4 separate regions of the Homo sapiens genome follow, and regions 2, 3 and 4 are each linked to region 1. Evidence: promoter capture Hi-C in human tissues and cell types (Jung and others, 2019). All regions are on one chromosome and are shown on one strand. Each heading gives the region's core, a stretch centred on a gene start or on the middle of the fragment in contact. The rest is flanking DNA. Distances are from core to core; before and after follow the strand shown.

Region 1 (7,123 bases), core at 789-3,288:
TTCTACCATGTCTCACCAGGCTCTTTCCCTCTCAGCCCTCCACCCCTGGGGTCCACTTTCGTCTCCTCTCCCCATGCTGAGGCCTCCCATTTTCTCTTAGCTTAGAGGCCAGCTCCAGAGCTGGCCCCCACCCCTCCCCTCTGTGCTCTGCCTCAGCACCTCATTTATCTCCTTCATGCACTTGGTACCATTTGTGACAATTTTGCCCTTTATTTCTGTCTCCCTCTCCACCATTTGTTTCTTGCAGTGCTTTTACATTGAGCTCTGGAATAAACAGATATCACTGATGGAGCATCTCCTATGTGCCAGACCCGGTGCTAAGATTTAACCCTGGAAAAACATCTTTATTCAACAAATACTTTTTTGAGCACATATGAGCTACACACTGGAAAGTCCCAATACTAAGGGCCTGGAGAGCCCAGAATAGGCAGGAGAACAGGCGATGCCCGTGGCGGGCTAGGTGGTTCGGTGGGGAGGGCACAGGGTGCTATAAGGTCTCATTCCCCTCATTTAACCAAAGAGGAAATTGGGACTTTGAGAAAGGAGGAGGCTTGTCAGGGGCAGTTCTCAAGCTGTGGCCCATGAACCTCGGGGGTCCCTGAGACCTTTTCAGGGATCCATGAGGGCCTCCCTTTCCCAACTACATGATTTGTATGAGGCTGGGGTTTTTCATACCTACAACTAGGCAACTAAACAGTGTATTTGGAGAGACTGAATGCAGAAGTAGACATGAGAATGTAACCTTCCATTAAGCCTGATATTAAAGAGATCAGTGAAAATGTAAAATGATGACAATCTTCTCAATTTATTTTTGTCTTAGAAAATATAGTTATTTTTAAAGTGTGATTTTTATTACCATGGAATGGAGTTTTATATTATTTTAAATGAATTAATAAATACATTTTAAAAATTCTGCTTTAATTTCTAATACAGCAAATATCGATAAATAACCCACATAAACAAAAGTTCTTTGGAGTCCTCAGTAATTTCCAGGAGTATAAAGAGGTCCTAAGGCAAAAAAAAAAAAAAAAATTACTAATTGGGAGACACAAGTGTCAGAATATACAGTAATTGTTCAGTAATATTGCTGTAAATTAATTAATAGGATTGCCTAGTCACAACAGCAAAGGCATGGAATCAACCCAGATGCCCATCAGTGGTGGATAGGATAAAGAAAATGTGGTCCATATACACCATGGAATACTATGCAGCCATAAAAAAGAACAAAATCATGTCCTTTGCAGCAACATGGATGCAGCTGGACATCATTATCCTAAGTGAATTAACACAGAAACAGAAAACCAACCACTCATGTTCCCACTTATGAGTGACAGCTAAACACTGGGTACTCGTGGACATAAAGGTGGGAACAATAAATGCTACGGATTCCAAAAACGGGGAAGGAGGCAGGGGAAAGGGGTTGAAAAATTACCTGTGGGGTACTATGTTCACTACTTGGGCAACGGGATCATTAGAAACCCAAACCTTAGCACCATGCAGTATATCCATGTAATAAACCGGCACACATACCCCCCGAATTTAAATTAAAAAAAAATTACATTAAAAGATAGGAGTACCTCCTTTACACCACCTGAATTATCATGGCACATAAATCTCACACCCTATTTGCCAAGGCCATTCGTTCCTAGCTGTTTTACAGGTAGGTTAGCTTTCTCAATGCAAGTCTGTGGGACGGATGGAGAAAAATTCCCCGAGCCCTTTGATCCTGCCCCAGCTGGGCCCCGCCGCGCTGAGCCTTGGGCGCGCCCCCTGCTGCCCGCGGCCGGAGCCGTTCGCCACACCCCCGTGTTTATGTCGGTCCACGGGGGTTGCCTGTCCCTTTAATTGGCATGTACCAAGTCCTTCCAGGTCACATTTCCTCCCTACGTCCCAGCCGTTTGGACTCACTGGCCAAAAGTCCAAGAGGACGGAATGTGGAGACAGTGTTGTATTTTTGCGGGGAGTTCTAGGCCGACCGGGAGCGAGAGAACGCTCGGGGGCGAAGCGCGCCATTGCGGCCCTCCCCGCCGCCTGCGGTAGTCCAGTCCCAAGATGGCGGCCACCATGAAGAAGGCGGTGAGTGGGGAGCTCGGGGCTCTGGATGCTCGGGCGGCGCCGGATCTCGGCCGCTGGGGCCCGGGCGCGGGATGCTGGGGGTGCGCAGCTCCGAAGCCCGGCGTGGGACCCGAGGCCGAGGCCGAGGCCCTGAGAGCGGTCCCGCGGCAAGGCCTGCTCGCGCCTGGCGCCCTGAGCGTTTTCCTAGGCACCTGGCCAGCCGAGGCGGGGCGCCGGGGCTGGGGCCGGGAGCCTCGAAGGACGCAGGTCCGCCTCCCGCGATGCCGAGGGTGCCCCCGGGGAGTCTGAGGAACCTGCAGCCCCGGCCTCGCCCCTGAGGTGTGGGAAGCCGAAGGTCCCGTTGAGTGTGGTTGGCCTTGACTCGGGCGTTGCACCGGCATGATCGCATTAGCCTCACTGGTTATGGGTAGCTGCTGCTGGGAGCGTGGTTACGGGTGAGGAAACTGAGGCCCAGAGATGGGGAGTCACCTGCCCGAGGTTACGCAGCTCATAACGGGGACAGCAGGTTCCTGCATCCCCAGATTAGCAGGCCCCAGAGACCCTGTGTCCAACCTGGAGCTGCCCATTTCCACGCTTGATGCCCCTGAGTCCTTCAGGCTAAAACCAGTATTTATTGAGAATGGAAGATGTGCCGGGCCCAGCAGCCGGCCGTTTATCTGTTATCCTCCCCGCAACTCAGCAAGTGCAATGGGTTCCTCTCCACTTTGCAGGTAGAGAAACTTAGACACAGAGCAGTTAGAGGCCCTAAAGTGACTCAGCTAGTAAGAAGCAGAGCTGGAGTTCAAACTCAGGTTTGTTTTTGTTTTTCTCAAAGCACGCCTGTGTAACCACTAAGCCGGCTAAACTTCCATGTGGGGTTTTTAATCCCGTGAGCCTTCCCAGATGTGTAAAGATAGTCAGATAGAAGAAAAAGAAAATTGGAGAGGGGGAAGGAGATAACGGCTGATAATTTGGGGAGCTTTACAGTGTGCTAGGTACAGCTGTAAGTTGTTTTGCGTGTATTGTTTATTTTATGTTCTTTGAGGGAGATACTGTTTTTATCCTTATTTAACAATGAGAAAACAGGCGCGGAGGCAAAGCTAGCATTTAAACACAGGCATTCTGACTCCGGAGTCTGTGTTTTAAACTGCTATAGGGGGTCTTTGATGAGAATCTCTTGGCTGGAGGGATTTGCGTTCATTCCACTTTTAAGACCACATTAGAACTTCTTTGCTTTGCCCCTATCCAGTACCACATAGTCTATGCCATCTGTGCCTGGTGTAGGGTGACCCATTGCCCCCTTTTATATGAAATTGAGGGACTGCCAAAAATGGGAAAGCCCCAGCCAACTCAGGATGTGTTGCTCACCCTACTATTCTGCCATCCAAAAATTCTTACTGTGTCCCAGAGTAGGGTCTAGGGCCATGGTGATTCAAAAAAGTATGAAACTTTGTGAGATTCACTTCACCTCTAGTTTGTTAAATTGGGCCCTCTGGTGTTAGGTATGGCCTTTAATTCCTTGGAAGATACTAGTTGTGGTTCACTCCGTTTTATAGGTATGGAAACTGAAGTGCAGAGAGGTGAAGTAAATGGTAGAAGAGGAAATGGCAGAAGAATGATTTGAACCTTGGATTTTGATTGCAAAATTTCTAATTACCAACTTTTTTTTTCCTTTCATTGATTCAGTAAATTTTCGGGGGCACGTAATATGGCGTAGTCTCAGTTTTAAGTGGAGACAACTGTGGTGACCAGTGAGAAAGCTCTTCTCCCCTTAATCTCATAGCCCCAAAGAACGTATGTTCCAGGGCAGAGCAGGCATTACTCAGATAGTCAGACAGAAAACTAGTTTCTCTGATGAGAACTGTGAAGGAAAAGTGCTTATGAAATGAGGGCCAAAATGAGGTCTGTTTTGAGATCAGAGAAGACTTTCCTGGGAAAGTGCCATTTAAGTTGAGATCTGTGAGATTATGTAAGGAAAGGAAGGGAGAGTTGGATAGGGAGCGAAGCATTCTAGAGAGGAGTATCTGCAGAGACTCTGAGTGCATTTAATACAAGGAAGGCCCGATGGCAGATAATCAGGGGAAGAGAGTTTGAGCCATGATGGGAAAAGAACTTATAGAGGGGTAGGTGGTGGCCAAAATATAAAGGAGCTTCTTTAACTTTGGAGGCTTTAAGAGTCACATGATAGATGCAGTGTCCTCCTGTAGATGTTTCCAGTGTTAGGAACAATTCCCGATAGATTAGCTTGCATGTACACTTTTCCCCTTTGCCCTCACTAGGAGAAAACATATGTGTATGCCAGTGAGTGAGAGTGAAACAGAGAGAGATAGCCCTTTGAGTTTAATTAAAAGCAAATCGTACAATCTGGAGTACTTTACGTTTGTAACACATCGTATCTCTCAACTGGTCATGACTTTGCTGGGGAGAGTGTTTAGATGAGATGATTCAGTCCTCTCCTCTCTAGAGTTCTGCCTTCTAAGATCCAGTTCTTGACCATAAGGAGATCTGCACTTTGATTTCTGTTCATTATCCTATATACAAATGTCCTTTCCTCAGAGAGGCTACCTTTGACCTTTATCTAAAGAAGCCTCCTTCACTCCCCAGGCCCCCAAAACTTTCTACTCCTAAGCTGTTTTATTTTCATCATCACGTTTGTCACCATTGAACATTATCTTGTTCATCTTGTTTTTTGCTCTCTTCCTCCACCAGGATGTATGCTTGCCATTTGTATTCATGAAAGTGGGATAGTGGCTCTCTTGTCACAGTGCATGGCGTATAGGAAACAGTAATTGTTAAATAAACTACTGCATGGATGAAAGTTGAATACAAAAATTAGCTGGGCATGATGGCGTTTGCCTATAATCCCAGCTACTCGGGAGGCTGAGGCACGAGAATCGCTTGAACCTGGGAGGCAGAGGTCGCAGTGAGCCAAGATCACACCACTGCACTCCAGCCTGGCGATAGAGCAAGACTCGTCTCAAAAACAAAAAAACAAACAAAGAAGGTTGAATACAAATACAAAGCAAAAGTTTACATCATACAGACTTGGTAGATATGTTTTTAAAAGTAAAAATAAAAGACTGAAATTGGCCAGAATTTATTTCTAGGGACCCAGCTGTCAGTGCAGACTCCGTGTAATACCTAGACTTGGTGTGAGGCATGACTGAGTATGGTTCAGTTTCCTCCTCTAATCCCGTAAGATATTAGTTCTCAAGAAAAGAGCCCAGGGAATTTTAATTTTTACTTTGGATCCCGAGCAGGCATATTTCTCTTTGGCCTAGCAGAATTTCTTTCTAGATCTGGATCTGTTCTTTGTAATGATTTTTGATAAACAATATTCAGGATGTAAAATGCTTAGCTATCATTTGACTGACTCCATCATCAGGCTTTCTCCTACATGTTCATTTTATCAACCCTATAAGGTAGGAACTAGCCTCTCCATTTTACAGATGAGAAACCTGAGGTGGTTCCAAAGAATTGGGTAATTTGCCCAAGGTTCCTGTTTGCTTGGATTGGATTGCAGCCTGACTCTTCCCACCACTCTGTGTGCTGCCTCAGATACTATAGGATATGAGTTCTTCCTAGAGTTCTTCTGACTTTGAGAGTAGCTACAGCTGGTTTCCCTGAAGGCAGGAGTTCCTAACCTTTTGGGGTTGTGGATCCCTTTGAGAATCTGGTGAAAGCTATGAAGACCTTCCAGAAGGATGCACATACTATACATGCCATTTTGCATACAGTCTCTGGGTATATCGACCTGTCAATGTCCATTGACCACCCCCACCCCCCAGTTAAGAATTACCCACTTCTGGCTGGGCGTGGTGGCTCAAGCCTGTAATCCCAGCACTTTGGGAGGCCGAGGCTGGTGGATCACCTGAGGTTAGGAGTTCAAGACCAGCCTGGCCAACATGGTGAAACCCCTTCTCTACTAAAAATACGAAAATTAGCCGGACATGGTGGCATGTGCATGTAATCTCAGCTACTTGGGAGGCTGAGGCAGGAGAATGGCTTGAACCCGGGAAGTGGAGGTTGCAGTGAGCCAAGATCATGCTACTGCACTTCAGCCTGGGCGACAGAGTGAGACTCTGTCTCACCAAAAAAAAAAAAAAATTACCCACTTCTTGCCAAAATGCAGCTTCAAGAAATGTAGGAATGTTCTAGGACAGTGAGACTAAAACAGAAGCCTCTGTTAGCCATCAAAGGCACTGACATCTTACTGTCTGCTGTAAATGGCACTCCACTGGGCGGCATGCAGTATATTTGACTCACACATCAACTTTAGCCCTTAACCCCAGTGGGAAAACCACTGTAAAGATCTGGATACCAGGGGCCACATGTGTGCTGATGCCTGTGGTTTGGTGGGGCTACAACAGGAAATTCCTGCTTTGGAAAGACAGAAAGCAGATAGCCAAATTCTCTCTACCACATTTTGGAAACTATGTGTTTGAGTCTGATCAAGCATGATTTAGATTCAAATTCAGAAACCATGTATTAGCCTTAGTTATGTGCCAGGCAGTCCTGCACTGGATCCGTTCATGTGAATGGCTCTGTTGAGCCCTCACCAAGACAAATACATCTATAAATGCCTGTTGGGGGTTCAATATTTAAACAAAATGGCATATACTCTTCAGGCAAACAGGAACTCTTCAGAATTCTCTGCTGTCTATTTGCGTAGGGAATTGACAGTTCTCACTTAGGCAAAATGACTTGTGTGCCAAGATATAGACTTTGGTTTCTTGAGCGTAGCTCAGTGTTCCCCAACTTCCATATTCATCAAAATTATGCATACGGTTGAACACTCAAAGCTAGACATAGTGTGATGTAAAGGATTTTTTCAGGCTATCTTCTGGGTTGTTGAGGTGGGGCATAATGCATGTGAAATTGTTTCTTGGAATGAGAGCCTAACAAAGGGGAGGACTGTGTTATATTCCGACCACTGAGCTCTGTATTGCTTGACACTGCCTTTCAACCTCTGAGAAATAAAAGTTCACATACCTTAAGTCGATGGTCATGAGAGACCAGGTCAGGGATGGAGTGTGAATGTTGTGAGCTCATTACTGTTACTGCAAAA
Region 2 (6,821 bases), core at 1,632-4,131, 1.0 Mb before region 1:
TGACAATCAAAAATATCTCCAGACATTGCCAAATGTGCCCTGGCTGACAACCGCTGGGGTAGCGAAGTAATGGCAGAGAAGGCCAGAAGTGATTGGATCCCAGTTGTATTCCAAAGGCAGTACTGACAGGTGTAAGCCTCTCTCTCTGCCCATCGCTAACCACCACAAGTAACAAGAGAGACTACCTTTGCATATGTGTCGCTCACATGGACAGTATGGAAACAAATGGCAACACACCTTTGTTGTCAGCTTCTATTTAATGTTCTCTCCAAGCATTTCTTTTGCTGCTGGAGGACAAAGGCAGTAGCTGTTACTCCTTTTACCCATGACCTTCCTCGGTGATTGGAGCATTGTAGAGGGTCGATGAGTACCTGCTGGCTTTGGTTTTATAATTATAGTCTCACTACACCTTTGCTTGGCCATTGTGGAAAAAGAACCTAATATCCTGTGTATCACTTTCTCTTCTAAGTGAAATGTGAGACATCGTGTTGGCTAAGTGGTTTGGAATCGTCGCACAGAAAGAATTAACCTTAATATAAAGACTTTGCAACTTGGTACATGATTCTCTGCAGTGTAGCTGTGTTGATACTTACTAGTAATAATTTTATATGCCCCCTTAATCATTGCTAGAATTTAGCGAACACTTACTGCTTGTTGACCACTGAGCTCGGTGCTTTATGTTAATATATATTATCTCCATCTTCCCAGCAACTTTAAGAAATAGAAGCTATTATTAAACCCATTCTACAGATGAAGAACATAAGATTGAGACTTATGCAAATCACCGTAGCATAGGCAGAGGATACATTTCAGAAATGTCTAAATTCTAAATCTTTGCTCTTGAATTCTTTACTGTATTGCCTTCATTCTAGGCTGCCTGGGGTGCCTTGATCCAACGAAGGGAAGTCAGGTTTAGCATTGGAAGCTAGCAAGACTTAACTGTTTTGTTGATGGCTTTAGGCTTTGGGTTTTGATGTATGCTATAACTTGTAATACTTCCAGCCTTGGGGAGGGAGAGGCAGGGGTGCTTTTCTGTTTCAGGAGAGGGATCAGCCACTCCCTCTATTCACTCTGCCTTTCTCTCTTGGCTACCATGGCTATGTACAAAGCCATTAGCGATGAATCATACGTAGGCAGATCAAGGGACACAATATGAGCTGTTTAGTCTTTTCCATCCTTCTCGATATGAATCATTGTCAGATTCAGAGCTGTAGCTCTCCTTATATAACTTTAGCTGCTCCCTCAGATGAATCTATGGGCACAACTCACCTTTAAGCTGAGAGGACAAATGAAGTTCACAGGTGCAAGGCAGAGAACTGGGTCTGAGCAGACTCAAATTTTTTTTTTTTTTTTTTTTTGAGACGGAGTCTCACTCTGTTGCCCAGGCTGGAGTGCAGTGGCACGATCTCGGCTCACTGCAACGTCTGCCTCCTAGGTTCAAACAATTCTCCTGCCTCAGCTTCCTGAGTAGCAGGGATTATAGGCACCCACCACCATACCTGGCTAATTTTTGTATTTTTAGTAGAGATGGGGTTTCACCATATTGGCCAGGCTGATCTCAAACTCCTGACCCCAAGTGATGTGCCCACCTCCACCCAAATTTTAAGTTCTGTTTTGAGGGTTCATTGATTTGGCATGGGGGTCTCAAACTCATAGGTCTACAGGGGCCAGGCTGGTGTGGGAAATGAGAAAGATGGTGATAAATGAGACATGAGAGGCTAAGAAGTGGGTGGGATGGCAGGCAGATTCTCCAGCATCCACACTGCCTCCCCTAGGAGGGCAGACTCATCTCCAGCCAAGGGTGCCAGGTGGAGTGTGGTCTCATCGCCAGACATAGGCTTTACCAAGAGAAACCAGGAAAATAAATTTTTATGCGAAATCTCCTGATTTTTTAGGTCTTGGTAATTCGTTTGTTTTAAAACTGCATGTCCCAAACCAAACCCACCTAAAAACTGAAACTGGGTTATAAACTCTGCCTTGGGAACTTGATCCCAAGCTCTCTAGACCTGCAATGTTCAAGCGGTATGTCCCACATACCACATGGGGCTACTAAGCCCTTCAAATGTGACTGGTCCAAATTAAAATATACTGTAAGTATAAAACACACTGAACTTGAAAGGCTTAGTCCAAAAACCGTAGTGCACAATATCTCCTTCATTTTTATAATATGATACTATTATATCATAATTTTATAATATACTATTATATCATATTATATGATACTATTTATATCATCATATGATGATATGATATACTATATCATCATATGATGATATGATATACTATATCATCATATGATGATATGATACTATATCATCATATGATGATATGATACTATATCATCATATGATGATATGATACTATATCATCATATGATGATATGATACTATATCATCATATGATGATATGATACTATATCATCATATAACATGATGATATGATACTATATCATCATATAACATGATGATATGATACTATATCATCATATAACATGATGATATGATACTATATCATCATATAACATGATGATATGATACTATATCATCATATAACATGATGATATGATACTATTATATCATAATATGATATAATATTTTGGACATACTAGGTTAAATAAGATATAGTTATATAAATCAATTTCACTTATTTCTTTCTCATTCTTTAATGTGACTACTGAAGCATATGAAATTCCATGCATAGCTGACATTCTACTTCTATTGGGCAGCGCTGCTTGAAGCCTTCAGTATCTGATCACTTGCAACAAAAACAGAGACATAATAATAATCACAGACACCATTTACCGGGTTCCTACCATGCATCACTGTATGAAGTTTTTTGTGCTTTCTTTTATTTCATACTCAGAATAACTCTTTGAAGCTATAATCTTACTATGGTCCCCATTTTATAGATGTGAACATTGAGTATTAGAAAGCTAAGTAACTTGTGGCCGGGTGCGGTGGCTCACGCCTGTAATCCCAGCACTTTGGGAGGCCGAGGCGGGCGGATCATGAGGTCAGGAGTTCAAGACTAGCCTGACCAACATGCTGAAACCCTGTCTCTACTAAAAATACAAAAAAAGAAAAAAAAAATTAGCCGGCGCCATGTGTGCACCTGTAGTCCCAGCTACTCAGGAGGCTGAGGCAGGAGAATCACTTGAACCCGGGAGGCAGAGGTTGCAGTGAGCAGAGATCTCGCCACTGCACTCCAGTCTGGGCAACAGAGGGAGACTCCATCTCAAAAAAAAAAAAAAAACCTAAGAAACTTGCTAAGAGTCACACAGTTATCACGTGAGCGATTCAATTCTGGATTTGTCTACAGGTTTTCAGATAATAAAGCCCGAGCAATTAACCACTGTGCTAAGCAAGAAAAACACAGAGAATTTGGACAAATCTGAGGAGAGTTGGTGGCTGGCTTCCAACATGCGCCTAAGCTTAAAATAGCATGCATTTCAGCCCAGAAATTATGGTATCTCTCCAACTTTGAACTTGTGGGCAATGCTTCATTTAAATTCAGAAGACAGAAAATATTTCCAAACAGGTGTACTTTACTCTGTGCAAAATGTACATATTCTTTCTGCATTGAGCTGAAACCAACTATTTGTGACTTGAAACACATTTGATATGCACAAAGGAAGTTCCAAATGTTAAGAAAACTATCCTGGGTCTTTTTAAAACTCGTATAAAAAGATCTACATCTTCCTTCTTTTGTGAATATGCAGCCGCACTGTCCATTTTGCAGGGTTAGGCCTTTACCTACAGGTTTTTCCTAGACATGAGATCCGAGCATATTTACCTGAACCTGATACTTGTCCACAATTTTTATGGAATAGACTCATGGGTGTGTTTGGGAATTGGAGGGTCCCTGGGAATGAATACTCCTCCTGCTCCCTCTCAATGCCTTCATCTGCTTCTAAAAAATATTCAGTAACACTTGTAGAAGGCATGGTGATCAGTGCAGTGTGAGCTTTAGGTTCAGATAATCCTGAGCACTGATCGTGATGCTATAACTTATGAGCTGTGAGCCTGGTGAAGCCATTTACATTCTTTAAGGCTTAGTTCCCTTATCTGAAAAATAAAGACATATGGGCCGGGCACGGTGGCTCACACCTGTAATCCTAGCACTTTGAGAGGCCAAGGCGGGTGGATCACGAGGTCAGGAGTTTGAGACCAGCCTTACCAAAGTGGTGAAACCCCGTCTCTACTAAAAATACAAAAATTAGCCAGGTGTGGTGGCACGAGCCTGTAATCCCAGCTACTCAGGAGGCTGAGGCAGGAGAATCGTTTGAACCTGGGAGTCAGAGGTTGCAGTGAGCCAACATTGCACCGCTGCACTCCAGCCTGACGGCAGAGCCAGACGCCGTCTCAAAAAAATTAAATAAAAAATAATAATAAATAAAGACACACATAGCAGTCACCACATATGATTGCTGTGAGGATTAAAAGAGGTTAGGGTCTAAATGTGCCAGCACAGTCCCTGGCACAAAACAGGCCCCCGAGTACAGTAGCCATTATTACTAAATAATAAACACGATGATGAGGATAATGATTTTTGTTCCTCAGCCCTTGCTTTTACTTTTCTGACTCTAACACTCAGGACTAAACTTGGTCAAAGGGTTAAAACAAATAGAGAAGGGAAAAGATTTCATCTATGAGCCACCAAGGTCATGGGTATTTGGCCGAAACACTTACCTCTTCAAGGCTTTGCATCTGGGTCTTTCATCCCCTTGCTTTTTTGAACACTGTATACCCTCTGTGAATGTAAAAACATTTGAAGAGTATCAAGCACTCCACGGGTAGTGGCAGTTGCAAGAAGTCTGGTCCATTTTTCTACCTTTCACACTGTCAGAGCACGAGACCTTGGGATTTTTATAATCCAAATTGATACTCTCTAGGAAATCTCTTCCACTCCAGCTCCCTGCCCTGGAAAGATTCATTTTCTTGTGGGCATTTCTCCAGCCCTGGTGGGTAACGGTGACTGAGGGTGAATTCCTAACCTTCCCTTGATAAGGTTCAAGTCTTGCTAATTTGAATCTCTCCTATTTTGCTCCCATCCACCTGGTGCTGTTTGATTTATCTGTGCTTGTTTGTGGATTCACTGATCACTTTCTTATTACTCTTCCACCTCCATCCATTTCAGTTTGCGGTGCCTTTCAGGTGATTTCTTATGCCACCCCTTACCACCTGCTCAACCTGACAAATTATCGACTCAAACTGTTGCTCCTGACCTGGCGTGGTCTCTTCCCAGGGATATAAATGATGCAGTTCAGAGGGATAATGATGCCCTAATAAACATACAGTTGTTCCTGTTTCAGCCTGCCCTGTTTGAAATTCAAGCATGCCACAACCACTGGCTGCTGCCCTAGTAAAGGCAGTGAGAAGGAAGAGAGGGAAATTGGAGGGCTGAGGGCTGAGAAATCCACGAGCACCAATAATGAGATCAGAGAAATCACAGAGGGGAGTTGTTGTTTTTTTCAGGGGTGGGGGGCACTTAACATCTTATTTTGCTGTAGTTAAAAATCAGGCAGGAGTGACAGGTTCCCTCTCCAATCAGGTGTGTTCTGAAGCCCTGAAGTTTGGTGGCAAGAAGCAGCAATAAGGCCCCAGAAGCAGGAGGTCAGTAGAGAGGAGATGCCCTCAGCTGCCCATCTTGCCCCTACCCTGGCTCTCACTTGTAGGGACATGGCTGCAGAGGCCTATCTGACCCCAGTTTTGTCCACAGCCACATCTTTAGAGATGAGCACCCTAAATCCCACTTTTATAACTTAGACTCTGAAAACCTTTCCAGATCACAGATTTGGGGCTGCAGCTCTTCTTTTTTATTTTATTTTTTTATTTATTTTAGAGATGGGGTCTTGCCCTCCTGCCCAGGCTGGAGTGCAGTGGCACTGTCATAGCTTACTGCAGCCCTGGGCTCCTGGGCTCAAGCAATCTTCCTATCCTAACTTCCCTAGTATAATAGTTAGGGCTACAGGCATGCACCATCGTGCCCAGATACATTGTTTTACTTTTTTTTTTTTTTTTTTTTTTTGATAAATGAGGTCTTCCTATGTTGTCCAGGCTGGTCTCAAACTCCTGGTTTCAAGCAATCCCCCTGCCTCTGCCTCCCAAAGTGCTGGGATGACAGGCAGGAGCCACCATGTCCAGCCTCCTGTAGTTCTACTAATTGCTATTATTACTCTTCACTGGAGAATCAAGTCAAAAAATCAATAAAACAACATAGATGCAAATATCTTTGACCTTGTTGGCATGACAGTTCTACCACCATTTCCCCTTTAGCTGATGGTAAATCGCATTCGCCCTAAGACCAATTTCTTTGGAGAATGTAAGCCTCTAGCATAAGTAATAAATAAATAAATGCAACCTTAAATCAAGATGAAGACCACCCTAATGTCTTTTCTCTTCACAAACCCACTGGTGGCGCTAGTGAGCAGGGATCACACAGGCTGGCTGTTCCTCACCCTGGACTGTTCCTCCCTTTGGTAGATACAGAAATGGAGAAGACAGGGAGCTCACAGCTACTGTTGCCTGCCCTGTGCCAGGCATCAGCTCTTGTTTCTCATTTAATCCTGGATCAGTTCTTTGTAGTAAGAGGTGTAACCCTGATTTGTGAATGAGGAAGCTGGAAATCAAGCACTCCCCAAGTATTGTAACTTGCATCAAACCCTCCGAGAGCACATTTCCCACCCACATCCTGCTTGACTTGATAATGACTCCCAACACGTACGGATCGCTTACCAGGTGTGAGGCGGTCTGTGTGTCAAAGCAGTGCACTTGGACTTTCTCATTTAAGGTCGCCAACAATCCTGTAGGTTGGAATTGCTG
Region 3 (6,534 bases), core at 2,785-5,284, 1.4 Mb after region 1:
TTCATGTTGCAGGTATTCAACTCTACATTGTAGTGTGAAAGTGGACAGTGACGGCATGCAAACATGTGGCTGTGTTCCAACAACACATGACACTTTACTTACAAAAACAGGCAGCAGACTCAACTTGGCCCATTTCTATACTTTGCCAGCCGTTCGCTTGGCACATTCTGGGTCACCTGAGTCTGGCCTTCCATTGCCATTGCCCTGCTTTACAACTCTCTCAGTCGTGGATAACTGAAAGCAATGCAAACAAATTCTTGTCCTTGGACATGACAATTCTGACCCATGGAGACTTAGTTCACTTGGCCCTCAATCTCACAAAGAAAAAGCCTGTTTCATGTCACGTATTTGTAAGTTCATTTTAATATCTTTGTTCTATACAAATTTGTCTTTAACTTATTCAAACCAGTTGTAACATTTTACAGATTCCCTAATTAATAACAGGCTAAATCAGGCCAGGCATGGTGGTTCAAGACTGTAATACCAGCACTTTGGGAGGTTGAGGCAGGAGGATCACATGAGGTCAGGAGTTCAAGACCAGCCTGGCCAACATGGTGAAACCCCATCTCTACTAAAAATACAACAAAAAATTAGTCGGGCATCATGACGCATGCCTGTATTCCCAGCTACTCAGCAGGCCGAGACAGGAGAATCTTGAACCCGGGAAGTTGTAATTTGATCGCAATGTGGTCATGGTAGCATGCGAAAGAGAGGCTTGAACCCAGGAAGCAGAGGTTGCAGTGAGCCGAGATTGTACCACTGCACTCCAGCCTGGGCAACAGAGTGAGACTCCATTTCAAATAAATAAATAAATAAATAAATAAATAAATAAAATCTTTAATGTGTTCATTTTTCATCTGTATGAGAATTACGATTTGTATCTTTTTTATTAATATTACCCTTCAACATACGTGTGTCGGAATCTCTCAGTCTTCATAACACCTAACTGGTTTTTCATAGTCTTAAACCTCTTTGTCATATATGATGGTGAATTCTCAGTAATATCGGCAATACTAATTCTCTTTTTGACAATGTCCATTCTAGAATTTGGCCATTCACCGCATGCCTCATTTGAAGGGTTATGCTTCTAATGTCAACATTTCCGCATTTCCTGTTTCATTGCATCTTATTTTATACTCTCTTATTCTTCCTCATGGACACAGTTTCCGCAGATAAGTCTTTGAGTTTCTTAAACATACCTAAGACAAAAAGCTTCATCTGCGCAAGGCATCCTGAACAGTGCCTGACACGTGTCCACATTCAAAGAATAGTTGTTGTCTTAGGTTAAGTTTTTCCAGATGGGTTGGTCTAATGGTTCTAATTGCTTATTTTGCAGCCTCCTTGGCATTAATTTCCTGTGCTTTATTCACAAACCATTCTAACATAGCACATCTGCACTTACTGCACATACATACGAAAACTTTGAGTGGAATGAATTACTTATTTTTCACTTTCCCTTGGTGATCACACACATGTACACACACATACACACACTACTTTTGTTTATGCCTCCACCAGCCCTCTGAGTCTCCTATCTGGCATTGGCCTTTTAATGGCAATTTGAGATTCCAATTTTGTAGAGACAAAGAGGACACCCCATATCCAGCCACTGAATCGGGTGATTTCATTTGAGACTTGGTTTCAAGGCTAAGACTGCAGTCTCATATTTCCCTAGGTCTTCAGCTTTCTGAAATCATAAGCCTGGCAACAATCTGCAGAGTTTCTTCTAGTGGGTTTACAGAGCAGTCCCATCCCAACTCTGTCCTCTAAGCCATAAGCATGCCTCTGTTTTCCTACCTTCATATTTTTAACCTGATTACCTGCAGGCACTGTCCTCCCAGCCAGGGCTGCCTGCATCCAGACCAGGAGCTCAGCATGAGATGTTCATTCTGTTTCCAAGCCTAGCTATGTCTCTGTTGGTATTTCTTGCTTGACATTTCGTCTATCATGACTGTTTCTGAAACTGAGAGATTAAGTCAAAGTATGATAATACCATAATATTTTGACCACAACTGTGTTTATTATTCACATTGTATAACATGACTCATTTGCATATTAACAAAATAAAATAAAACTTTGCATTGACAGAAAAGTCCACTAGTTACACTACTTAGAAAGACATAAATAGAAGTGACTAAAAAAAAAAAACTTAATGGGAGCTTGATATTTTTTTTTTTTCACGTGCCACTATGACAACAGTGCAATCAAATTAGAACTCAGGATTAAGAAACTCCCTCAAAACCGCGTAACTACATGGAAACTGAACAACCTGCTCCTGAATGACTACTGGGTAAACAACGAAATGAAGGCAGAAATAAATAAGTTCTTTGAAACCAATGAGAACAAAGACACCACATACCAGAATCTCGGAGACACATTTAAAGCAGTGTCTAAAGGGAAGTTTATAGCACTAACTGCCCACAAGAGAAAGCAGAAAAGATCTAAAATCGACACCCTAACATCACAATTAAAAGAACTAGAGAAGCAAGAGCAAACAAATGGAAAAGCTAGCAGAAGACAAGAAATACGTAAGATAATTAATTTTAAAATAACCTTTAGAAAAGCTAATGAATATTGCACTGATATCTACAAACTGATAAAAACTTTGCTGCCACCTCCAACATGCAATATTAAAACATTAAATATTTTAAAATCGCTCCAAAAATAATGTTAATCCTTGTTTTTTTCTGTAATTTTCCAATTCTAAAGACAATCCACTAGTCTGGTGTACACTTTTGAGCTATTCTGTCCACCACCTATTAAGAAGATAATATCTTAATTCAAAGGAGGTTCATACAAAGAGACAGAAAATTGACTGCTTAATGAGTTTGCAATGATTCCTTTCTAATAAACTTAGCACATCTGCATTACTGGTCATATATATGAAGAGTGAAGTTTGAATTTGTTCCTTGAAGCTTATGTAGAAATCAGAAAAGCAGACATTTTTTCCAGTGTCATATCTGAACATACCTGTGTATTCTTTGGGTTCTTCTCATCAAAACTCAGAATAACAGATCCTGGCCAGGTGTGGCTCATGCCTATAATCCCAGCACTTCGGGAGGCTGAAGCAGGTGGATCACCTGAGGTCAGGAGTTCGAAACCAACCTGGCCAACATGGTGAAACCCTGTGTCTACTAAATACACAAGAAGTATCTGGACATAGTGGTGGGCACATGTAATCCCAGCTACTGAGGAGGCTGAGGCAGGAGAATCACTTGAACCTGGAAGGCGGAGGTTGCAGCGAGCTGAGATCGCGCCACTGCATGCCAACCCGGGTGACAAGGGCAAAACTCCATCTCAAAAAAAAAAAAATCCTGGAGATTTTAAAGATGGGCAGTATCAATTAGATTGGCAGTAACCAAGGCTAATTTAACTTCCAAGGGACATTTGACACTATCTGGAGACACTTTTGGTTATCAAAATGGAAAGAATATACAGTTGGCATTGAATGGGTAAGAGGCCAGAGTTGTTGCAAAACATCCTCCAATGCACAGGACGCCCCCTGGATAAAGATTAATCTAGACCTAAACGTCAGTAGGGCAAATGCTGAGAAACTCAGGGGCAGACTTTACAATTCCCATTTGAGAAGCGTTTAATAAATTGTATGTCTAATATATATATATACACACACATATACATATATACACATATATACATATATACATGTGTACATATATACATATATACATATGTGTACATATATCCAGAGAAGATATGCATATATTTATACATTTATGTACATAACATCACTGTGTATGTATATGCAGGGTGTTTTACTTTGCAGGAAAACATGTTGTTATTAAATTTAGGAAATTTCCTCCCACATGTCTTGGTTTATCCCACAAGAGCTTGCTGTGCTCAAAGATACTACCTTGACTGAGCACTTTCTCATAAACTTGCTGAACCTTCATAAAGATCCCAGGTGGGTATTATTATTATTCCCTCAGTGCAGATGAGAATACTGAGATCGAGAAGCGTTTAGTAACTTCCCTGAGGCCATAGAACTGGTAAGTGGAGGAGCCAAGATTCTCACCCAGTCTAGTTCATCTTACTCATTGTTTGCAGTGTTTAATTGCTTACCCAATAAGGTCATTAAGGCACTTTCCACTGGGAAGTGTTGCCTTCCATCTCTTAGGAATGGTAGATGTATGTACTAGTTGGCACTTAAGAAGTGGTGATGTCTGAAACATTAAGAAAACTTCAGCAGTGAAAGAAGGCACACATCAAAGCCACAGAGATGAATGCTAATGAGAAGAGTAAACATATGAAACTGCTTTTTTCTTCCTTCAAAAACAATTTCCAAGTCCCTACCAGGTGCTGTGCAGATAAAGCAGGGTCACAGAAGTGCTTTTCTGCACAGGTTGAGCAGGAGGTGCACCGAGGCACAGTCTTAGCCTGAGGTGTTTCTTATAGCTAAGCTGAGAATTACGTTTGATTCACATTGGCTGGATTTCATTGCAGGATCCTGGAGTGCCCAGAAAACCCAAAAGAAGCAGACTCAGGCTGCGATCAGAAGAATTTTATTATCCAAGTTGCAACATGCAAATATCTTCTTTGCAGTCTGCTTTCTGCAAACATCAAGTGAAAAAAATAAGCAGGAAAAATGAGAAAAAAAAAAAAAAAAACTGGTACAGTTCATGCTTCACAAAGTCCTGTAGGTTATTACCATGTTTTAAGTTGTGAGTTGCAAACACAAGCTGTTCTTAAACAAGAACAAAAAGAAAAAGCAGATGGTTTCTTTTTACATCCTGTGAAACTTTTCCTGAATATAAGCATATGTTCCCTTCTCCCCAGCTGGCATTCCCCATGCAAATGATCAGTTTGGGGTTTTTTTTGTTTTTGTTTGTAATTTTGAGGAAAATTCTTGATGCCCATCCCCCATCCCACTCTAAATCCCATAATACCTAGAAATAAGAACAGGGAAAGGCAATCGCCAAAATATTTGATCAAAGTAAGTCTTTGAGGCATCATTGCTGTGTAGAAGTATGTTTGAGCCTAAGTATCATCCTGACTTTATCGTTATTACTATTATTTTTACATTATGTCTATTTTTCTCAACAAACATCTTTCTTGGTACTCAATTGTTTTTCCTATATGTGACATGGTAGAAAAATGTGAGATTTGCAGTTATAAAGACTTGGATTCAAGTTTACTTACTTATTAAATGACTGTTACCTTTGGGAAAATTATTTTAAATTTATTTTAAAATATTTTTATTCTCTGTGACCCTCAGTTTTATAATTCACAAAGTGGAGACAATAACATCTCCATTTTCACAGAGATTTAGAAGAGAAATATATATAAGGTACTGGAACAAGGCTGACCCTCAATAAATGGTTACTATTTTGAACTCCGGGCAAATTGTATAACCTCGAACCACTCACTTCTCAAAAATCTGGTTCTTCGACCAGCAGCATCGGCAGGATTCAGAAGCTTGTTAAAAATCCCAAAATCTCAGATCTGCTACATTTTGTTCTGCATTGTAAATAAGCCCCCTAGATGATTCTTAATCTCATTTCAGTTTGAGAGACACTGCACTAAATCTTATTTGCCTCATTCACATATATAGTGACAGCACTAGCACTTACTTCATAGAAGTATTGGAAGATGAAATAAGATAGTGTATTATTTGTATAGTATTGCATGAAGTGCCTAGCACATACTACCTTTTAAATAAATGGTAGTTATTATTGAGGTGTTACTGCTTTATTGGTGGTGTTGATCTGGAAATGTATATGGGAACTTCAAGAGCCTTGAATGGGCTTCAGTTTTGCTCAATTATCTGCATTGTTTTAAAAGAGTTTCCCACAGATGTTAACTATCATCCTGGCTTAGGTGGACTGCAATTGTGTTTGCTTCACTACACATCTTAGCAGCCAAAAGAGTGTCTCTCTTGTTACTACTTAAATTCTTCTTGTGCCTTAAGAGGTATAGGAGGAGGAGAATCCAATGTTTCTGAACAGTTTTGTTTTATAGCCAGATACAACTGTTACAGTCAAAGCGCTACTTGCTCCAATATTAGTTATCTATGGCTATGTAAAAAAACTATCCCAAACTTAGTACAAAACAAAACAAAAAGCCATTTAAATCATGCAGTTTGAGGGGATCAGTTATTCAGGAGAAGCCTAGCTGGGTAGCTCTGGCATGAGATCCTGCCTGAGATCGCAGTCCATTTGATGACCAGAGCTGGAATCATCTGAAGGCTTGACTGAGGCTGGAGGTTCAGCTTTCAAGGTGGTTCACACATGTGACTGTTAGCTTGAACCAGCAATCAGAGAGAGACATTGAGAGGTGGAGGAGAGAAAAGCTATAGTGGCCTTTATAACCTCATCTCACAAGTGACACACCATCATTTCCATTGTATTCTATTGGTCACACACACCAACCCTGGTACAATGTGGAAAGGTACTACAGAAGGGTGTGACTACCAGGAAGCAGAGATTGCTGGGGACCATCTTGAAGGCTGGCTACCACAGTCTCTGGCCCACTAATTTATACGAAAGTAGATGAGTGTAATGAATATAATGCAACCTC
Region 4 (7,192 bases), core at 4,691-7,190, 1.1 Mb before region 1:
TAGCCAGGGTCGGTGATCCTTTTTTCGCCATATCTACTTCTTTCATATTGCTGATCACATCGGAAAGCCAAAAAAGGACTATCAGATATGATCAGGTTACCTGATAAAAAGAACAAACAGTTTTCGAAGTCAGACAGACTGGTTCAAATCCTGTTTCTGTTTATTCAGGCTCAAACCTTAGTCTGTCATTGTTACCAGCTGTGAGACATTCTGCAAATTATTTAACTAATTGAAGTATCAGTTTCCTCATCTATAAATTGGGCATGACAGTAATATTTGCTTCACCGTTATAAAGACTAAAAGCAAATGAGATAGTATGGAATTCTGTTTCTGTTTTTACTGGAAGGAATTATAAAAATTTCCAGTTTGCATTGATAACTTGAAGAGGGAATGTCTATTTTTTTTATAAGTTTTCTTCCCTTTCTATGTGAATTTTTTTAACTGTAAGCATTTATTGCATTTTTTTTACTTCTGTCTTTTAACATCATTTGATTTATCTTGGGTAAAATCATAAGCCTTCTTTATTATTGTTTAAGTTTCTCTGATTTAAAAAAACTAAAATATTATTAAAAATTAAATAAGATAACATAGCTAAGGTATTTTTCATAATGTTTGCCACAGAATAGCCACTAATCAAATTTGTCATAAGTAATAAGATCACTTCCATAACTACAAAAATTTTATAACCCAGGAAAAGTAAAGAACGACAAAATACACAGCAATTACTCAAAAGATTTTTCATTCCACTTATTCTGGTTAATTTCAGGTCCTGGAATCAAGAACAAGTGTTTATATATCGGTTAAATTGTTTTATAATGAATTTTGAAGAACCCTTGGAATTATTTTTGTGTTGGAATTATATTGTATTAAAGAGTGTTTGAAGCAATTTGGATATTCAAGTGGACTTAGTTTTGTCGGGGTTTTTTCCACTAAGATTTTTCACTGTTTGGGCATTATTTAAGATTCAGCCCAACAATATGTCACTAGCTAAAACTGAATGATGCTGTAATCCATACAGAGGACAAATGACAAATTTGTTGACTAAACTTCTATCAGTTTGGTTAGTGAGGAGCATTCTGATTATAGGTGGGAATTTTTGAGCAAGATTGACTCTTAATTTCATGTTCAATTTTTAAAAATTTATTCATCCTTTCCTCTGTTTTTCTTCCTTTCCAACCAAACTTCCTCCCTCCCTCCCTCCCTCTCTCCCTCTCTCCTTCTCTCCTTCTCTCCCTCCCTCCCTCCCTCCCTCTCTCCCTCTCTCCCTCTCTCCTTCCCTCCCTCCCTTCCTTCCTTCCTTCTTTGGTTAAGCACCTATTCTGTATTTTAAAACCAGTAGTCAAGCTCAGTTCATACTTTTTTATGCAAGTGCCTTTCACCAAGACAAAAACCAAGGCTTGAACTAACATTTAGCTTTTCTGAAAGCAATTTACTGAGAAAGTAAGATGCTTGGGTTTTTTCTGTGTAGACATTAATAATCATTTATTAGATTGTTAGGCCTATTTCAAGCCATGTAACCTCACTGGGTCTCAGTTTGCTTTCCTCCAAAATGGGATAATAATACCTGCTTTATCATATACATGAAGAATTTAGTCCTGTGCTAGCTCATGGTGCATTTGTTAAATAAGAAAAATAGATGCTGGGTGTGGTGGCTCACGACTGTAATCCCAATACTTTGGGAGGCTGAGATGGGTGGATCACCTGAAGTCTCCTGACTTCGAGACCAGCCAGGCGAATATGGTGAAACCTCATCTCTACTAAAAATACAAAAAAATCAGCCGGGCGTGGTGGCGGGCACCTATAATCCCAGCTACTCGGGAGGCTGAGGCTGGAGAATCGCTTGAATCCAGGGGGCGGAGGTCGCAGTGAGCCAAGATCGCGCCACTGAACTCCAGCCTGGGCAACACAATGAAACTCCATCTCAAAAAGAAAGAGAGAGAGAGAGAGAGAAAGAAAGAAAGACCGATATTTCACTTTAGGTAGAACTTTTGCATGTCTTGGAGAATCTGAAATATGACCAGGCTGTCAGTGGGGAAACACACCGAGGAGAAACTGCATAGTGGTAGTGGCTTGGTTCCTAAAGTAAGACAAACTCAGGTGTTCAATGCTGTTATTTATTGAACACTTATTTACATGCCAGGCCCCTTGTCAATTACTTTGTATGCATTGTACACTAGGTGTTATTTTATTATTCCCATTTTACACATAAGGAAATGAAGGCCCCTGAAAGAGGGCAAGGACTTTCCCCAGGATAAATTACAAAGTTCAGATTTAAACCCAGGTGGTCTAGACCTCATGATCTTAAACACTATGCCCCCAGGATTCAGGGCCAGAAAGGTGCCTAGCTGCAAAGTCATGCCCATTACTGAGTTCAACTTCCTCAAATTCCCCCTGAAGTAATCCCACGCAGGGCTCAGTGGTGGCGTTCAGGCGTAAGCATTAAACCACAAGCCAGGCAGACCTTCATGAGGGCTTCTCAAAGTTCTCCTCTCCAGCTGCGCTCAACCTCACCTGTGCCTCTCAAGGCCTAGGGTTATTGTGCATGTGGCATGGTCTCCAGCTGTTCCTCATCCTGACTTCTCCATCTGCACCAATCTCTTTGCATGGAGGCCGTGTCTTCTGGTCTCTTGGTAGCTCAGTAGTGGTGGGGTGGGTGCCAGCTGCCCACTGTGCATCTCAATCAAGGTTTCTTTAGTTGTAAGGAAGAATAACTCTCTTCAAAGGAAACTAAGCAATAACAACTAAACAGTAACAACAAAAATGTCTAAGGAGGGCGCTGGCATAGACCAGGGAATTGATGCAAAGGTGGGGTTGAGTGGGATGTCGGAGAGGGTAGAGCCAGGTATCTTTATGAACCAAAAGGTATATGTGTTTTGCACCTTCCTTCAGACTTTCCTTCTCTCAAGATCGCCATATCTCCATTCAGATTTTTGGGCTAATCTCTACCAAAAGCTTGGCTCTCTGTGGGTAGCCTACTTTCAGTCCATTTGTCTCTGATTGAGGTGGAGTCTGTTAGGGCTTGAGGAGCAAGTAGTTCTTGTGGAAGGGAAGGTATGGCTTGAATAGATCATCCCCAAGTGTGTCTACCACATTGGTTCTTTGGAAGGTGATTGTTGGAGAAACCTCCTGTCAGGAATGATGTATATAGGGCAAATAACAACCTCTCCCTGGTGGCCTTAACCATAAAATAGAAGTATGGACAGCTCTGTTCATCCTAACAATTATTTATAGGCCACCTCAATTTGCCTCTGTTAACTGGAACTCGTGTCCTGAAACCGTGTCTTCCCTTTGCACAGTTCTGTGGTTGCTGAGATGGCATGCACCATAAGGAGTGTCTGCATTTAAGACTTATCTTTTAATGCCAGTTCTCCTTCCAGGAGCTGGGGATATAGCAATGAACCAATCAAATGTTCTTGCCTAAGAATTCAGGTAAGGGAGAAGGAAAATAAAAAATGAATATATTAGCTAGCTGGCATGTTAGACGTGAAATGCTAAGGAGAAAACAAAGCCAAGAAGATGGTAGAGGAAGAGTCAGGGGATGGGGTGGAGGGTTTCATGCTAGATAGGATGGCCAAGCATGGCTCTGCGGAGAAAGGAACCTATGAGTAGACTCATAGGAAGTGAGAAAACAAGCCATGTGATGATCTGAAGGAGGAGAATTCATAATACCAGATTCTCACATGGCTAGACCTTTTGCCCTTTCTTGAGCAACAGCCTGTCATGAATGGAGAGAAGAATTGAGGTCAACCAAAAAAGGGAAATTTTTTTGCCCAGGATCAGATGCTTTTCCAAGTAAACAAGTAGTTACTCCAAGGGATATTTCCAGGAGATTCTTCAACTCCAAAGGCCAAATCTTCACGTTTCCGTTACTGTAGAGCTTTCTAAACACAGATAATTGTTTGCACAGTTGGTCAGCTCACACAAATCCCTTGGCAGTTTCTACAGACATTTATGCATTACACATTTTCGATCCTTGGCCCAAAGTTCTGATGTTTTAGCTCTGACAGTCGGCTCATGAGAACTCAGACTTCTTGATGCAAGCCCCCAGTCTTCACTTTTGAAAGACCATGGACCAAAGTTTTAATTGCCTCGTGGGTGTCTCTTCCTCTTCACTGGGTGCACAGCGTTACTCATAATCATGCTTCTGATTTGTGTCTGTTAAAAGAAGGATCAGAAACAGACTGGCAAGGTCTTACAGTTCTTGGTAAAACTCTTGGAAAAGACTTTCTTTTTTGATTTGCTTGTGTATTTTAGTGGTGTCTTCAGGCTATTTAGAGAAAAGTAGTATGTCTATTGATTCGGCCATTGGCAGGGACTTAAATGATGGTACGTGTTGGCTGTGTAGTACCTCTGCTTCTTCTAGTTGGATTAAATCCAAGGACAGGTAAATTCTTTTGGCATTTGGCTTGACCAGAGACTTTGTATCTGCCATATTGGTAATTGGCCACCTTGGTGATTTTTGGACTAATGCTCCAGGGAGAGAAACTAAATAACTCTCTCCTCCAACCTTTTCCCAAGCAGTTCTCTCTACCTGGCATTATTTTTTAAAATTGACTTAAGCTTTGCCCCCTCTTGGAAGCATTCTATTACCCCATGTCTGTCTTCAAGATGAATTCAGCTTCCTGCTCTGTTGTCCCATAAGTATCCTGGGCATAGTTCTGCTCTGGGACTCATCACCTATTGCTGAAATCCTTTTGTTTTCTTACCTGTTTCCTACTGAACAGAGAGCTTCTTGAGGTCCAGCACTGGGGCTTAATTTGATTCATTTAGTAAGTTTTTGTTGGGAACTTACTATATATGAAGCACTGGATTCAACTCTGGGAACTCAAAAGTGAACAGAATGTACACAATTCTGCTCTCATGGAATTTATAGTCTACTGGAGTTAGACAGACATTTTAAAAAATTATCATACAGGAAATTGCAATGAGTAATTTTGTTGGGTACTATGGAGGGAAATCCTTTAAGGGCCCTGTTTGTTTCTGACTTTAAAGCACTAGCAACAAATTGGCATTAACTGATTATGTGATTTGAATGGAATTGAGGATCTCAGCGTTGGCCCTCCGTCCTGCTGTTGTCAACTCTCCCAAGTTTTTAAATGCCAAGTTGTAGTTGCCTTTGTTCCGCTAAATTGAAAAATTTACCCCGTGCAAATGAATAACTAAATTCATATTTTTTTGAAGAATTCTATCTAAATGGAGATTTGATGGCTTTCAGAAACCTTTAAAACTTCCCTTTCCCCCATATGAATTCCACTATGGATTGACATATGGCATATTTTCAATGTCTAGTTTTTGTAATTAATTGAAGGCTCACTCTGTCTGAGAAAGAGAGTGCTTTGGCATTTCCGAGACCTGTGGATTCCATCCAGAGTACCACACAGCAATGCAGAGACTCCACTGCCGCTCACCTAGCTAGGAGGCTGCAGCTCTGTTTGTGAAATGTTGCTATTCAGCTTTCAAGTTTATTGGGAGCACTGAGTTCCAAGGATAGCAATTAGGTTGTTCTGCATTCTTCGGCTGGCTCAGGATGCACGTGCTGAGACTGCACATCATAGCAACGGCTCCTTGACTGCCAGGGAGAACAGTGTGAAAGCTTTCCGTGGCTCATCTCAACCACCTCCTCCTCGCCCCTGGCGCTCCGCAATCCTCTCTACTCCTTGGTGATACCTTTTTAAATCTCCCCATTATGTTCAACAGCATGTCAGCTGAGAGTTCAGGCTTACGAGATCATGTCCAATAGGCCAAAGTGTCGAAAATAAATGTTAGCTCATAAAACATACGTGGCACATCTATAGGGCCTGAGGAAAGCCCACACAGAGAAAAAAATCTTAAGTGAACTTGTTTAACCCAGCAGTGACAGGTACAGGAATGGGATTTTCTTTTTTTTTTTTTTTTTTTTTATTAAACAGAGTTTTTCCAACTTCCAGGCTGGCAAAGAAGTTGTAAAGGGAATGTACATTTTGCACCGTAATAGAAAGAGATAAGTAGGGATTTTTCCAAGATTTGGAAAGCTGGTCTTCGTAAGTCCATTTATTTATTCAACAAAAACTTTATGAAGTATCTATTACATGCCAGGCACTGTACTTGGCATTTGGGATAACATAGTGACTGAGAAAAGATTTGCCCTTGAGAAAAATCACAGCCCCTTTGGAGGGACTGACATTAACCATTTAATCACATAAATATGATTTTTCACACAGTAATAATAGCTATGAAGATTAAAAAGCTAGATCATAAGATACGTGGCTATAAGAGAACTCCCTGATAGGGTGACATTTTAGATAAGTCTCAAAGGGTGAGAATAAACTGTCTACATGAAGAACAAGAAAAGAACCTTTCAGTCAAAGGAAATAGCAAGTGCCCAGACCCTACTGAGGAAGGCCTGGGGAGCGCCCAAGAATCCTGTGTTAATCAGGGTTCTCCAGAGGGACAGAACTAATAGGATAGATGTATATATCAAGAGGAGTTTATTAGGAGAATTGACTCACAATTGCAAGGTGAAGTCCCACAATAGGCCATCTGCAAGCTGAGGAGCAAAGAAATCAGTCCAAATCCCTAAACCTCAAAAGTAGGGAAGCTGACAGTGCAGTCTTCAGTTTGTGGCCGAAGGCCCAAGAGCCCCTGGCAAACAAGTGTTGTAAGTCTAAGAGTCCAAAAGCTGAAGAACTTGGAGTCTGATGTTTGAGAGCAGGAAGCATCCAGCACAGGAGAAAGATGAAGGCCAGAGGACTCAGCAAATCTGCTCTTTCCATCTTCTCCTGCCTGCTTTATTGTAGCTGTGCTGGCAGCTGACTAGATGGTGCCCACCCAGACTGAGGGTGGGTCTGCCTCTCCCACACCACTGACTCCAATGTTAATCTCCTTTGTCAACACCCTCACAGACACCCCCAGAAACAATACTTGGCGTCCTTCAATTCAATCAAATCGACACTCAATATTAACTGTCACAAATACGAAGGAGACCATTCTGACTGGGGTTGAGAATAGGGTGGAGAGAGTCAGGGCATGAAGCCATGGGGGAATAGGTTTGCTGGAATTTGAAAGCCATGAGACAGAGTGAGGAGTTCCTTCCAATTGAAAGATTTTAAGCAGCAGAATTCAGACATGAACTTTGGCTGGGTTTGGAATGGAGTGCACCTCTGTAAGACTGAGGTGCACCATTTCCCCGTCTGCCAAAATGGAGCAGCTGACA

Evidence for each region. Contacts are between HindIII fragments. The study calls those that stand out against the background at their distance.
Region 2: a contact is called between a fragment that was not itself captured here and the fragment with the promoter of PFDN4 in region 1, in 1 of the 25 tissues and cell types used here (lymphoblastoid cells).
Region 3: a contact is called between a fragment that was not itself captured here and the fragment with the promoter of PFDN4 in region 1, in 1 of the 25 tissues and cell types used here (heart left ventricle).
Region 4: a fragment that was not itself captured here is called in contact with the fragment with the promoter of PFDN4 in region 1 in 1 of the 25 tissues and cell types used here (lymphoblastoid cells).

What each region holds. Positions count from the first base shown.
Region 1 is chr20:54,206,049-54,213,171 of GRCh38, forward strand. PFDN4 (prefoldin subunit 4) reads left to right here and starts at 2,039. Exons shown (of 4, transcript NM_002623.4): 1 at 2,039-2,076. The coding sequence starts at 2,053. LOC124904937 (a long non-coding RNA gene) reads right to left here and starts at 1,993. Exons shown (of 2, transcript XR_007067669.1): 1 at 1,909-1,993; 2 at 898-1,008. RefSeq lists enhancers at 1,436-2,253, 1,794-2,113, 2,254-3,070 and a silencer at 2,104-2,373. The HindIII fragment of the contact is 11,424 bases long and covers 1-7,123 here.
Region 2 is chr20:53,201,855-53,208,675 of GRCh38, forward strand. The region is part of intron 1 of TSHZ2 (teashirt zinc finger homeobox 2); the gene reads left to right. Among named protein-coding and RNA genes, the nearest start is that of TSHZ2, 230 kb to the left of the region's middle. The HindIII fragment of the contact is 5,589 bases long and covers 88-5,676 here.
Region 3 is chr20:55,651,862-55,658,395 of GRCh38, forward strand. No RefSeq gene overlaps it. Among named protein-coding and RNA genes, the nearest start is that of LINC01441, 230 kb to the left of the region's middle. The HindIII fragment of the contact is 3,943 bases long and covers 2,064-6,006 here.
Region 4 is chr20:53,083,442-53,090,633 of GRCh38, forward strand. All of the region lies in intron 1 of TSHZ2 (teashirt zinc finger homeobox 2), which reads left to right. Among named protein-coding and RNA genes, the nearest start is that of TSHZ2, 110 kb to the left of the region's middle. RefSeq lists a silencer at 5,275-5,501. The HindIII fragment of the contact is 4,369 bases long and covers 3,757-7,192 here.